Linked DNA regions of Homo sapiens: region 1 is linked to region 2. Evidence: promoter capture Hi-C in 16 types of primary human blood cells and fetal thymus (Javierre and others, 2016). All regions are on one chromosome and are shown on one strand. Each heading gives the region's core, a stretch centred on a gene start or on the middle of the fragment in contact. The rest is flanking DNA. Distances are from core to core; before and after follow the strand shown. Region 1 overlaps FOXK2 (forkhead box K2). Region 2 holds the start of CD7 (CD7 molecule).

Evidence for each region. Contacts are between HindIII fragments. The CHiCAGO score rates a contact against its expected background, and 5 or more counts as called.
Region 1: a contact is called between a fragment that was not itself captured here and the fragment with the promoter of CD7 in region 2, in 2 of 17 cell types (naive CD8 T cells and activated CD4 T cells). The highest score is 5.5, in naive CD8 T cells.

What each region holds. Positions count from the first base shown.
Region 1 is chr17:82,536,676-82,539,375 of GRCh38, forward strand. All of the region lies in intron 1 of FOXK2 (forkhead box K2), which reads left to right. Among named protein-coding and RNA genes, the nearest start is that of FOXK2, 18 kb to the left of the region's middle. The HindIII fragment of the contact is 2,008 bases long and covers 392-2,399 here.
Region 2 is chr17:82,316,310-82,319,009 of GRCh38, forward strand. It overlaps CD7 (CD7 molecule), which reads right to left and starts at 1,299. Exons shown (of 4, transcript NM_006137.7): 1 at 1,105-1,299; 2 at 358-672; 3 at 1-100. The coding sequence starts at 1,186. The HindIII fragment of the contact is 24,830 bases long and covers 1-2,700 here.

The DNA of each region.
Region 1 (2,700 bases), core at 146-2,645, 220 kb after region 2:
AGCAAGCTCGAGGCCGAGGAGGTCTTCGCAGAGGGGGCCTTTTGCCCTGGGCATGTGTGTAGCTTTCTGAATTTTCCAGCACACACTGAGGCCTCTGAATGTCCTGATTTCCCAGAAACACACCCAGGTTTTCGCCTTAGGCAGTCTGTTGTATGTTGGGACTGTAATCTTCTGCCCCAGGCATCTGAGAGTTAAATGGGTTTGAAATGTTTTTAAGCTTTTTTTGGCCTTGGATCTGACTTAGGCAAAACAGAAGAGGAGTGCCTTGTGTCAGTCAGACTCCAGACACATTAGAACAGACACACACAATACATTTTGAATGAGGTCTCCAGCAGCTTCTGGTAGGCACTTAAGGTTAGAAAACATTGTTTAGGAAAAGAATAGAATATAAAGCTTAGCGGTTGGTTGTAGAAGGTTCTTGCTGCTGGATCCACTCAGCTCCTGGGCAGTTGGTGGGGGCCAGCCTCCAGCTGACCAGTGAGTGGGATGCTGGGCTGGAGCTGCTGGTATTATGTTAGGAAGGTTATTCCTGAGAAATTCAGATACTTGTTGACTGAATTGGTATGATGCTTATAGTCTTTCTTAAATGATTAAAGTTTAACATATTATTAAATTTAAAAATATTGTGAAATAATACTTCTTGTAGAACATTTAGACCGTAAAAGTGGATGTGAAAAATTATCCATTGCCGGGCGGGCACGGTGGCTCACGCCTGAAATCCCAGCACTTTGGGAGGCTGAGGTGGGCGGATCATGAGGTCAGGAGTTTGAGACCAGCCTGGCCAGCATACAAAAAATTAACCGGGCATGGTGGTGTGTGCCTGTAATCAGCTATTCAGGAGGCTAAGGCAGGAGAATTGCCTGAACCTGGGAAGTGGAAGTTGCAGTGAGCTGAGATCATGCCACTGCACTCCGGCCTGGGCGACAAGAGTGAGACTCCATCTCAAAAAAAAAAAAAAAAAAAAAAAGGCCAGGCACACGGTGGCTTATGCCTGTTTGCCAACACTTTTGGAGGCCGAGGCGGGCAGGTCACGAGGTCAAGAGATTGAGACCATCCTGGCCAACATGGAAACCCCATCTCTACTGAAAATAAAAAAATTAGCCGGGCGTGGTGGTACACGCCTGTAATCCCAGCTACTCTGGAAGCTGAGGCAGGAGAACCCCTTGAACCTGGGAGGTGGAGGTTATAGTGAGCTGAGATTGCACCACTGCACTCCAGCCTGGCAATGGAGACTCTGTCTCCAAAAAAAAAAAAAAAAAAATCCGTGGCCAGGCACAGTGGCTCTCACCTGTAATCCCAGCACTTCTGGAGGCTGAGGCAGGTGGATTGCTTGAGGTCAGGAGTTCGAGACTAGCTTGGCCAACATGGTGAAACCCTGTCTCTACAAAAATACAAAAATTAGCTGGGCATGATGGTCGGTGCCTGTAATCCCAGCTACTTGGGAGGCTGAGACAGGAGAATCGTTTGAACCCAAGAGGCAGAGGTTGCAGTGAGCCGAGATCGTGCCATTGCACTCCAGCCTGGGCGACTGAGCAAGACTCCGTCTGAAAAAAGAAAAAAAAGATATAGGCCGGGTGGGAGGTGGGAGGATTGCTGGAGGCCAGGAGTTCGAGACCAGCCTGGCCAACATAGTGAGACTTCTTTCTCTACAAAAAATTTAAAAATTAGGTGTGGTCGTGCATTCCTCCAGTCCTGGACACTTGGGAGGCTAAGATGGGAAGATCACTTGAGCCCGGGAAGTTGAGGCTGTAGTGAGCCATGCTCGTGCCGCTGCGCTCCAACCTGGGTGACAGACCAAGATCCTGTCTCCAATTAAAACAACATTAAGCTCATTTTGTCAAAGGAAAAATTACCGTCCTCGCATTTGCCTTCGTTGTTGCAGACAGAAGAATGCCCTTGTCCTCTGCTGGTGGACACAGTCCCCACAGGAGCCGCATGGGGTTTTTCTGTGTATCATGTATGGTGTAGAAGAGCAAAATGCTCTGCACCGTGTTTTATAGGGAATGAAAAAGAACCCCACCAAACTTAGGATGCATCTTTCCAGCCGGGCCCTTCCTCAAGCCCCTCACTGTCACCTCTGGCCCCAGGGCAGGCCTGGGGCTCACCCCTTGGACAACACTGAGGCCCAGCCCAGAGAAGGGACTTGTACCCTACGCCATACCCACAGCTCACAGCCACTCAGCCCAGCATGGGTTGCCCCAGCCAGATCTCCTTCCAAAACAGTTAGAAGAGTATTGATGAAGAGTCCTTCAGAATTTTGATTCTTCTTCCTCTCCTGGTTTATCTTCTGGTGGAAAGAAAAACACGTTTGGAATGTTTAAGACTGAGAGGTGATGGGATTTCTTTTTGAGGTAGAAAATGTGGTATGAGAATGGGAGGGAGAAATAGAAAAGTATTGAAGCTTTTAAAACTGTAAGGTGGCCGGGCGTGGTGGCTCAGGCCTGTCATCTCAGCACTGTAAGGTGGCCGGGCGTGGTGGCTCAGACCCGTAATCTCAGCACTGTAAGGTGGCCGGGCGTGGTGGCTCAGGCCCGTAATCTCAGCACTGTAAGGTGGCCGGGCGTGGTGGCTCAGACCCCTAATCTCAGCACTGTAAGGTGGCCGGGCGTGGTGGCTCAGGCCCGTAATCTCAGCACTGTAAGGTGGCCGGGCGTGGTGGCTCAGACCTGTAATCTCAGCACTGTAAGGTGGCTGGGCGTG
Region 2 (2,700 bases), core at 49-2,548:
GTCTGCGGGTCAGGGAGGGCGGAGCCTGTCGGTGGGGCAGGGAGGGCAGAGGCCCTTGGTGGGGCGTCCGAGCATCTGTGCCATCCTTGGGACTGTTCCTCTGAGAAGGAAAAAAGAAGGAAGGGATTCTCCCGGTGGAGAACCTGTTAGAGCCCCCGGGGTTTGGGATTCGGGGCAGGGAAAGGCTGTGGAGGGGAGGAGGGGCAGCTATCTAGGAGGCTGCTGGGGGCAGTGGGCTGGGAGCTGGAACAGTTCAGGCACATGTAGGAGGGAGGGTCCCACGACAAGGGCTGGGGGAGCAGAGCCTGGCCAGCAGCTGGGGTTGGGAGGGGGGTCTGGGATGGGCACATTCCCTACCTGTCACCAGGACCAGGGTGCCGGAGCCGTAGACATTGACCTCCGTGATGGCCTGGCAGGTGTAGGTGCCAGTGTCCGACAGCTGCAGGCGGTGCATGGTGATAGTCAGGTTGTCCTGGGACCCTGAGAAGTCGATGCGGCCCCGGAACCGTCTGTCCGTAGTGGGCACCACCCCGTCCTCGTAGTAAATGATGTCTTGGGGCTGTGGCCCGAGCTGCCTCAGGTAGATCCCACGCAGGCCCCCGCTGGTGGAGCAGGTGATGTTGACGGAGGCTCCCACGGGGACAGTCGTGCAGTGGGGAGACTGCTGCACCTCTGGGGAGGACCTGGGCTGTCACCATCAGTCTGGCCAGAAGGACAGAGAATGTCCTCCCTGCAGGGGACAGTGGTGGGGATGGTGGGGCCCTGAGACAGCCCAGGGCTGACATGTCGCCAAAGACACGGTGCCTTACGGGGCATGGAGCAGATCTGGGCACCGGCTGTGGTGTTGGGGGAGGTGCTGTCCTCGTGTTCCGAGACTGTGGGCTTCTTCCTCCCAAAGCAGCGGCCCTGCCTGGACAGCCCCGGCCACTCCCCACCGGGGTCCACCCTTTTTCCTTCTCTTAAATGAGTCCTCAGACACTGGAGGCCGCTCAGCACCCCACCCGCTTCCTGGGGGCTGTGCTGTGGCTCAGACTGGGGGCTCTGAGCTCATGGGGCAGGGAGAGCTCTGGAGCTGTGGCCATGGAGAGCCTGGGAAGCTCTTACCTTGGGCAGCCAGGGCCCCAGGCAGGCCGCGAGCCAGCGCCAGAAGCAGGGGCAGCAGCAGGAGCCTCGGAGGCCCGGCCATGTTCCCCACACCCAGCTCTCCCAGCCGGGCGAGTGCAGCTGAGCCTCTCTGGGTCTACAGGACCCCACAGAGAGCAGCACACAGGAGACCGCAGGCGCTCAGAGCTCAGAGAGGGCTTCCTGGAGGCGGTGCCTCAGACCAGGGTGGTGCTGTGGGCCCGGTGGGAGGGGCGGTCTCACCTACCCCTCCCCAGCACTGCCTCCCTGAGAGCTGCCCTGAGAGCAGGGCGTCCCTGTATCCCCCACTGCCCCTGCATCTCCACAGGGAGGAGGTCAAGGCCTGGGGCGGGGCAGACCAGAGGACAGAGAAGGGACTCCCTGGCTGGGGACGGGTGGCAGGGTCTGGAAGTGAGCGGCAGAGCTGGCCCCCAGCCTGCCTGGTCCTCTGGGGTACTTTCTGCTGGGACCCAATTTATGCCCAGAAATCTGGAGCCACCCATGACCCATGAGTCACCCACACAGTGCAGAGGAGCACAGGGCAGGCCAGAATTGGCACCCCCTGGTTTGGCCGTGGGGAAGGAGCCTGGGCCTGCACCCGCACCCAACGCTGCAGCCGACCAGCTGACCGTGGCTCTGCGTTCCATGTCCTGGAGGCGGGAGGTCTGAGGTATGGTCCAGGCCTGAGGTTTCCCGACCTCCCTGGGAGGAGTGCGTCAGGCCGCAGTGCCCAGCTTCAGGGGCTGAGGGAGACCTGTGCCTGGGCTCTGACCCCAGGGTGACTGAGTCCTCTGGGAGGGGGCACTTCTCTGTCCTGAGGGCCTCCCGCCACAATGACGAAGCGTTGACGTTGGTGCCCAAAGCCAGTAGGTGCAGCACATGAGCAGGAGTGTGTGGACACGTGTGTGTGCAGAGACGGGTGCGTATGGACATGTGTGTGCAGAGACGGGTGCGTGTGGACACGTGTGTGTGCAGAGACGGGTGCGTGTGGACACGTGTGTGTGCAGAGACGGATGCGTGTGGACACGTGCGTGTGCAGAGGCGGGTGCGTGTGGACGTGTGTGTGCAGAGACGTGTGCGTGTGGACGTGCGTGTACAGAGACGGCTGTGTGTGGACACTTGTGTGTGCAGAGACGGGTGCGTGTGACTCCATGCGTGTGTGCAGAGACGGGTGCGTGTGGACACGTGTGTGCAGAGACGGGTGTGTGTGGACACGCATGTGCAGAGATGGGTGCGTGTGGACACGTGCGTGTGCAGAGACGTGTGCGTGTGGATGTGCGTGTGCAGAGACGGGTGTGTGTGGACACGTGTGTGCAGAGACGGGTGCACTTGACTCCATGCGTGTGTGCAGAGACGGGTGCGTGTGGACACGCGTGTGTGCAGAGACGGGTGTGTGTGGACACGCATGTGCAGAGACGGGTGCGTGTGAACACGTGTGTGTGCAGATGGGTGCGCATGACTCCACGCGTGTGTGCAGAGACGGATGTGTGTGGACACGCGTGTGTGCAGAGACGGGTGTGTGTGGACACGCATGTGCAGAGACGGGTGTGTGTGGACACTTTGTGCAGAGACGGGTGC